2 separate regions of the Homo sapiens genome follow, and region 1 is linked to region 2. Evidence: promoter capture Hi-C in human tissues and cell types (Jung and others, 2019). All regions are on one chromosome and are shown on one strand. Each heading gives the region's core, a stretch centred on a gene start or on the middle of the fragment in contact. The rest is flanking DNA. Distances are from core to core; before and after follow the strand shown. Region 1 overlaps FERRY3 (FERRY endosomal RAB5 effector complex subunit 3). Region 2 holds the start of FGF23 (fibroblast growth factor 23).

Region 1 (4,440 bases), core at 780-3,279, 150 kb after region 2:
CACTCCCTCAGGACAGATGCTACTAGAAAGGGGACTGGGACGGCTGAGAGGAATGGGGCACTGAGGAAGTGACTGCAGAGAGAAAGCGATTCAATGTCCAGGCCATTATTTCTCCACCTCCACTTTCAGGCATAACGCCTGACTTCTTTGAGGTTCAAACCATTCAGCACCCCTTATCTTTCATGGCCATCATTATCTAACAACCTACCTGTCTGTCACTCACCCTCATTCCTGTAAAGCTTTGGCACCAAGTTCAAAGAATTCCTCTCTGCCCCACATCCTGCCATCAACCTGGGTTACTTGGATATCCATGTGGAAACCCATCCAAGGCACTGCCTTCTTACTTTCCCGAACTCTACAATCTTTACTGTGGAGTCCCAATTAGGGAAAAGGAATCAGGCTGGCAGGACCAGGGGAAAGCAAAAAGAGAAAGCAGATAAGCTATAAGTCTGCCTTTCCTCATGGTCCAGACCAAGCTTGTCCAACCTGTGGCACAGGATGGCTTTGAATGCCGCCCAACACAAATTCATAAATTGTGAATTTTTTTTTTTTTTTTTTTTTAGCTCATCAGCTATCCCTCATGTTAATGTATTTTATGTGTGGCCGAAGACAATTCTTCTTCCAGTGTGGCCCAGGGAAGCCAAAAGATTGGACACCCCTGGTCCAGGCCACGTAGCCCTCCTGCACTCACCTTTCACCAGACACCTGCAAGATAGCTGCAAGACTGCAGCTCACTGCAGTCTTGGGGTTATCAGTACTGCACACAGCACTGTACAGCATACAGCATAAACGCTGTCCTATAAAATCTCCAGCAAGCCTTTGTTTCCTTGAAGTCAGCTTCTCTTCTGTTGGCCTGCCCATTGCCTCCTCGCAACATATTTTCCTACTTTCTCTAATAAACCTACCTTTCTTTATCTACAACTGTCTTGGTAAATTCTTTTACCCCTGTACCACCAGCCCAGATAGTCATCGTTTACCTGCAACATTTACTAGTTCTCCACACCACCTCAGCCATCCATTTAGTATCCTCACCAGAAACTCAGTCCGTCAGTATTCAAACATTCTAGTCTCTGACTACAACCTCCACCCAAGATTTCTCGCTCAATAATCCCCAGGTAATTGATATTTAACCTCATCAGGACCTCCACTTCATAAGTTTCTCAATGTTTTCATTTTTTTTTAAATCAGCCATCAACTGCCACTTAGCTTCACTTCTTTCCCTATGTAGCTTACATTTTGTGATCTAGCATTCAACCACTGTCTTGCCGATATCCTCAACTCCCTTGACTGATGTACCTTATATTACCCACCTAACAAAACCCTCATCTTATTCCTCTTCTCTATGCCTGCAGTCGGGCTTTAGAGAGCTGTAGCAGAAAAATCACAAAACTCTATAAAGTTTATGGTGACAAACTGGTGCCACTCTTAATCTTGGCCTCAATGATGCCTGGCAATCCTATCATTCGCTGCTCGGTTTTCTCCTTAAATATCCAACAATCTTTTTATACCTACTGCCTCATCTAAACAAATAACCTGTCTTTCCTTAAAGTTGAAACACTCAGAAGAGAATATTCTCAACTTCCTGCTACCAAATTAATAAAATTATCTGAATTTATATCCAACCTTTCCTGCTTCTCTTTGGCTGTAAGTGGAGAAGCATCTGTCTTCCCAGTTATGATTAATTCTCCATTTGAGTTCTGGATTCTATCCCTTCTAGTCCTAAACTTTGCCGCCTTAAAAAACAAACAAACAAACCTCTGACCTTGTGTTCCCATTTAGCCAGTGCCCCATCCTTCACCTCTTTATATTCGAACTTCTTCAGTTAGTATACTAATTCTTCCTATTTCCACACTCCCACATGCTTAGAGTCAGTGAAATCTCATTTCCACCACCACCAACTTACCGAAACTGATCTTGCCACAGACAAGATTACTTGATAAATACAATGGATATTTTTGAGTCTTTTCTTTGCCTCTTATACTTGATGTCATCTTGGCATTCTCTCATAGTTTAATTTGCAGTGCTCTTTCTTAGTAAATAAAATCATTTGTGATATACCTAATGGCATCTTAGACTTTATGAAACAGGGTATATTATTTAAATAGAAAATGATATGATGTGACTACACAACAATAATGAAGATAAGTTTATAAAAGTAAACCAAAGGTTACATGAATGCTGTTGCTGATTTAGGGTTGCCAGATAAAACACAGAACACTCACTTAAATTAGAATTTCAGATAAATAGTGAACAATTTTTTTTAGTATAAATATGTTCCATGTAATATGTTGATATACTAAAAAATATTCATTTATCTGAAATTCTAACTTAACTGGGTGTCCTATATTTTTAATTACTAAATCTGGAGACCCTGTGCTGGTGAGATATATGCAAGTAGCCTCTTGTTTTACAAAGGTATTACATAAATAGCATTTTGTCTTATGTGCTCACCCTGATATAGGAAGCACAGAAGCAGCAACATATACATTATAGAATATTGTATGTGGAGAAAAAGGATCTTATAACGATTTCAGGATTACCACAGCATTTTAAAAATTTTCACCAAAATCCAGAATATCCTTGAAATTTACAATCTGACCTATTTTCTTACCTCAGCATAAGCTTTGGCCCATGTACTCGCCAGCTGATGTAAATCTACTTCACCTGATTTCACAGCTGCCAGGGATGCTTCAGCATCTCTATCATAATCGCTGAGGGATTCTTCTTCTATAAACTGAGTCAGAGCTTCTTTTAAGTCTGTTACAGGGACATCAAACACCATCGTCAGCAAAATCCAGGTATAAATAGGGAACATTTTACTTGGCTGAGAATTCCAATGTGAAATCTTATTGTTAAATTTTTATTTTTTATTTAGAGATGGGGTCTCTCTCTCTGTTACACAGGCTGGAGTGCAGTGGCATGATCACAGTTCACTGCAGCCCTGAATTCCCGGACTCCAGTGATCCTCCCACCTCAGCCTCCCGAGTAGCTGGGACCACAGGTGCATGCCACCATGCATGGCTAATTTTTGTATTTTTGGTAAAGATAGGTCTCACCATGTTGCCCAGGCTGGTCTTGAACTCGTCAGCTCAAGTGATTCACCTGCCTTAGCCTCCCAAAGTGCTGGGATTACAGGTGTGAGCCACCTTGCCCAGACATGAAATTTTATTTTATCAAGCTGATACTCTTAATAGAATCTCCAACTAAAATGAAATCAGCTTAGGGGATCATTTAACTAATTTCATGATTATTTTCCTTTACTATTACAGGCTATTGCATAGAGAAAGGTCAAAAGTCTTAACTCTTACGTATTCCCTTGATACTAATAAAGTAATGTTACTTTCTTAAGCCTGATATTTCAGTTTGAAGCCAAGTGGGTATAAGGACATAAAGAAAATGCTACAGATTTTGAAGGTCTGAACATTACTGTATTTACATTAAAAAGAGTTTTCCATGTAACTTTAAAGGGTACATTGTTACATCCTTTGAAAGAGAAGTTAAATGACTAGCTTATTAACACATTTAACTTAGATGACTGACCGATTTCAGTTTTACAGACACCACTTAGAGAATGATATAACGGAAGAGCACTGAGAGAGAAGTTAGGACACCTGTGTTCTGGCTTTGGCTCTATTATTATCACTATGTTCGCGACTTTAGACTGTGGTTCACAATCTTAAGTGTGCATTAGAAACCCCTGGAGGCCTTATTTAAACAGACTGCCACATGCTACCCTAGTTTCTGATTCAGCAGAAATGGGATGCAGCCCGAGAATTTGCATGTCTAACAAGCTTGCAGGTGATGCTGTTGCTGCTAAATGATTAGAAACCATATTTCAAGAACCACTGCCTAGGGTAAATAATTTAACCTCTTTATGTTCCAGTTTCCTTGTTTGTACAATGTGATTGGGCTATAAAGTTTCTAGGTTCTCTTATAACTCTAACCTGTGATCTAACATATTCTGAATTTTAAATTTTTCCTAGACTGTGAGATAGAGCACAGACCTTTAAAAATGGTTTAATACATCTAACTTTATAAAACTAATTTAGGTAAGCAAAGACTATTCAAAAATTAGTACACTTTCTGTTCTATGGCATCTCAGAAATTAATGACCAGATTATTAAAAGGGCAACCAATTTAGCACTATAATTCTATTAGCACAATTAGCGATAGCTAAACTGCCTTATAACTTCACCCAACTAAATTCAGAAGAGCTCCTCTAATTCCAAACTTTGTAGCTAATTTTTCATTATAAAATCTAATTTTTATATTTTATAAACAACTACCACTTATAGGAAAAAACACTCAATAAAAGAAAGCTCTGGAGAAATGTTTTTATTCTTGGAATCAGTTCCTATGTTATGGCTGTTTCCAAAGCTTCTTAGGTTTATGCTTTCTAATATGAAACTTCCAATGACAGACTATTGAAACTAATAAAGT
Region 2 (4,490 bases), core at 1,685-4,184:
CAAAGTGCTGAGATTATACGCGTGAGCCACCGCATCTGGCCTCTTTTGGGTAACTTTTAATTGTAGTGTGTAATTTTTTCCTGCACTTTTTTTTTCCCATAATACACATGACAACTCATTGAACAGTACAAAAAGTTATCTACATAGACTAGGAAAAGTAGATCTCCCTCCCACTACCCTGACCCGAAGTTCCCCTCCCCGCATTCATGTTTAACTCTTTAAAGATGCAATGTTTAGCTAGTGCCTATGTCTAAGGAAACAAAATCACATTTCTATTTTTAAAAATCTGAAGTCAGTTCAATTTATTTTGCTGCTTCTCAGTCATTTTAATTCACTCTAACTAGCACTCAGTGATCCCTTGGGGCCTGATACGAGGTGGGCTTTCAAGGAAAAGGTCTAAGTTCAGACTGCCAGCCCAGGAGGTTGACTCTTCACACTCACTCCCCACCGTAGCCGGCCTGTTCTGTTCTACCCTAATTCTTGTTCAGGAAGAAACGTCTTTAAGGAGTTCCTTTCAGCAACGGGATTCCAGGATTCGAGACAAGTTGTATAAACATTCTCTAGTTGGATGCAGCCCTTTCCATCTAAGAGAATCAAAATAATTTACCATAATCTACTATTCTGCATTTTAAATCACATATAGTCTTTTTTTTTTTTTTTTTTTTTTTTTTGAGATGGAGTCTCGCTCTGTCACCCAGGCTGGAGTGCAGTGGCGCAATCTCGGCTCACTGCAAGCTCTGCCTCCCGGGTTCACGCCATTCTCCTGCCTCAGCCTCCCAAGTAGCTGGGACTACAGGCGCCTGCCACCACGCCTGGCTAATTTTTTGTATTTTTAGTAGAGATGGGGTTTCACTGTGTTAGCCAGGATGGTCTCAATCTCCTGACCTCGTGATCTGCCTGCCTCGGCCTCCCAGAGTGCTGGGATTACAGGCGTGAGCCACCACACCTGGCCCACATATAGTCTTGAATTAGAGTAAGGGTGTCCCCTCCATGAGACATGCAAAATTGCATTTCCTGAAAGTCTGGTAGTGAGCTGGCTGACAAGGTAGGACGACAGACCATGAGGTCCTTGAAGGGTTGTGTCTTAGTTTTCAGCCACAGCGCTTGGTAGAATGCCAGGCACATGGTAGATCCTATTAAATATCCATTGAATAAAATGAACAACACTTCGGGTGCATCAAGTGTATCCAGATTTAATTGAAATTTTTGCCATGAGACTCAAACTTGGTTTCCAAGATGTTGACTCCTGAGTCTTACTATATTCTCTGGAGTTCTGGAACCTGTTTGGTATTCGGAGAGAACTTTCCTCTCTCCTTTTATCTCCTGTCAATATGCATTTAGTACTTGAAGAGGTTAAACTGTCAATTTCGCATGTTATATATCTTGCAACTTAATTTTGCATGTTGTATATCTTGCAACCAGGTTTAAGGACCTTTGGAGCCTAGAAGAATAAATGCCTCACACACAGCAAGGTCACAGCAAAAATAATTAATTTATTTATTACAACAATAAAGGGCAAATCATAATTCCTATGTTTTCTTTAGTTAGAGATTGTCTAACTAATTTTTCTTTCCTTTAATTTGAGCTATATTGGATCAGTTTGCATTTTTCTGTATGCTTTGAGGTGTTTTCTCACGTTTTCTTAAAATAGAAGATCCAGTCTTTTTCAATATCTATCCCTGCTTTCACCACATTACCCCTTATATAGGTGCACACAAAGGGACCCTCATTTGAATCATTGCTAATGGATTGATTATTGTGGATTGTGATCCAATTCTCCACAAACCTGATCTTTAAAAACATTCCAGTTGTCTCATGTTGCCAATAAGTTTCTAACTAGCTTGACTTGCTACTGACTGGACACCTTTCAGTTCCACAGAGAAGAATCACCAACTCATACTGGGTACCTGGGTACCTGGGTGTCTGAAACACCCATTAAACCTGTTGGATGGATGGATGGATGGATGGATGGATGGATGGATGGATGGATGGATGGATGCATGGACAAATGAATGGGTGGATGGGTTGTATACTTGGCCATTCTCACCAAGACAACATACATGGACAGTCTGTCTTTAATACATTTTTCCAAGAATTTTTATAAGGCCAGAGTTGGAAAGAGCCCCCAGATTTATCTATAACAATCTGGGTATGACCCAGGAATCTTTACAACCTCCCTAGTTAACCCAGTCCAAAGTCCATGAGCTGAAACTTAGTGTCTGTTGATCTGCCTGGCTTCTTTTTCTCTTAGACTCCTTGCCTTTCTTTCTGTACATTTTTTCAATCTTTTGACGGGGCAAAGGGAACATGGCTCCTACTGTGGGAAGGGTTTTAGTTGAAATAAAAATTATTCATATTGAGAAAAACCAGCAAATGCTAATTAGGAGAGTGACAGAATCTTCCCCTAAGTTTTAAATACACACGCACACACACACACACACAAACACACACACACACAAAGACAATAAGTGGTTCCTGGGCAGAAAGCTAGGAGGGTTGGATTAGCCCTCCAGTCTAGTCCCCAACCTCCCCAAGCCTCCTGTAGATGGACAACAAGGGTGCTCCCCTTCTTCCCAGCCTGAAGCCCTACTCACTGTAGATGGTCTGATGGGGTGCGCCATCCACATGGCCATTCTTGTGGATCTGCAGGTGGTAGCTGTTCCTGGCTGTGGCTGTGTACAGGTGGATCAGGCCACCCCAGCTGGAGCCGAGCAGTGGGGAGGCATTGGGATAGGCTCTGAGGACGCTCATGCTGCAGACGCTGCACAAGGCACAGACCCAGAGCCTGAGGCGGGCCCCCAACATCGTGCCCTGCTCTGAGTGGCTGGTGCTGAGATTGAAACCTGACACTCCTGTCGGGACTCTCCTGGCCCAGGCCTTACTGGCCTTTTCCTTCTCCCTTGCAAGTAGCTGGTGTGAGGATCCTAGACTGGATTCCCTCCTTTTTGCCGTCAGACTTTTAAAGGGTAGCAGTGTGACATCAAACAGGAAAAACTCCACTGTCCACATCCTCTGTGTTGTAATCAGCCCATTGAAAGAAAGTGCAAAGACCCCGGAGGCGCACGGAAGGCACGTCGGTTCCAGACACACACACCCCTCAATTTCAAGCCAACGCTCCAAAAAATGAATGACGTGTGGGCAAAAGTTATCTGCCACTCTGGGCTGTCTGTTGACCTGTCCCACTTCCATCAGGAAATGTGAAGGCAGCCAGCGGTTCCCAAAAAAAATCCAGCTTCAGTCAAGCAGTCAACCGACTCCTAGGCAATTAATCTCCTGTCGAGTTTACTTATTTTGGTTTTCTTTAAATTCCAATCAGCAAGTATGTATCCAGTGCTTAATCTGTGAGCAGGATTTGGTGGGTAGCTTGCAGGATATAGAGATACATGACACCATCAGGCAGATGGCATCCTCTAAGAACACCCACTTCATGAAAGATGGGAGCTAGGAGCAGGGGCACAAAAGCCAAAGTTGCCATTTTGGGAAGATTTTGAAATGGAAGAAAAAGAAGTAAGGCCTTGAGGTCAGTGAACATGCCAAGGTTCAGTTTCTCAGCTTCCTTAGTCTGGACTTCACTGAATATGCCAAGGTTCAATTTCTCAATTTCCCTAGTTTGGACTATCGAGGGCAACTAAACTAGTAGTCTCTCCAGTAGTAAGGAGACTCATTCAGAGACCTCATGGGGATTGGAACAGCTGCTGGCTGAGCACTGGGGATCCGAGCCTCAGGACAGGGTGTCCCCACATTTAGTGTCTGTACATGAGTGCTCAGCTTGGTGTTGGATGCCTGCCTGCAGATGCTGTTCACAGTGAGCCCTCTGGGAAGCTACACCTGATGTCGGGTGGAATAGTCCTGGCACATACAGTCTAAAGGGGAGCAAGCTACTGGAACACACACCCGAAAAAACACACAAGGAGTTTGCTATTCTTCCAGTTTCCCTGTACTGAGTATATGCCATGTACAGGCATCAAGCTAGACTCATGTACAGGTTGATATAGGAGACAGCAAGATGTGATTCCTATCTTGAGGAGCTCAAATCTAATGCAGGAGGCAGATAAAAATAAGTAACTATAATACAAAATGAGTGCAAGCTTACAGGTATAGACAGAAAGAGATGGCATTTGTTACCCTACATTTGTACAGTTTTTTTTTATAGTTTACAAAGCATTTTCACATCTATTAGCTTATTTGAACCTCACTGCCACTCTGTGAGATAGGCACTCCATGCATTATCAAGATTTTAATACTTTACATGAAGAAATGGAAATCTTAGTGTTTCCATGTCCAAAGGCACAAAGCAAATAAATGGTAGAGCCAGGACAAGGTCTTCTCCTTCCCTAGGCTGCTTCTCCAAAGAATCACAGCAAGAACTAACGCTCATGGAGAGCTTACTGTTCCACTTACTGCTCTAAGTGCTTTACTTGTAGTAACCCATTTCATCTTCAGAATAACTCTTTGAGGAGATGCTGTTATTTTCTTTATATAGATCAGGA

The links. The method cuts DNA at HindIII sites, captures the fragments that hold promoters and counts their contacts. A contact is called where the count stands out against the background at its distance.
Region 1: a fragment that was not itself captured here is called in contact with the fragment with the promoter of FGF23 in region 2 in 2 of the 25 tissues and cell types used here (bladder and pancreas).

The regions. Positions count from the first base shown.
Region 1 is chr12:4,531,546-4,535,985 of GRCh38, forward strand. FERRY3 (FERRY endosomal RAB5 effector complex subunit 3) reads right to left here. Exons shown (of 14, transcript NM_020374.4): 3 at 2,612-2,757. Among named protein-coding and RNA genes, the nearest start is that of FERRY3, 4.7 kb to the right of the region's middle. RefSeq lists an enhancer at 3,825-3,884. The HindIII fragment of the contact is 5,337 bases long and covers 1-4,440 here.
Region 2 is chr12:4,376,778-4,381,267 of GRCh38, forward strand. It overlaps FGF23 (fibroblast growth factor 23), which reads right to left and starts at 2,935. Exons shown (of 3, transcript NM_020638.3): 1 at 2,595-2,935. The coding sequence starts at 2,805. The HindIII fragment of the contact is 10,071 bases long and covers 1-4,490 here.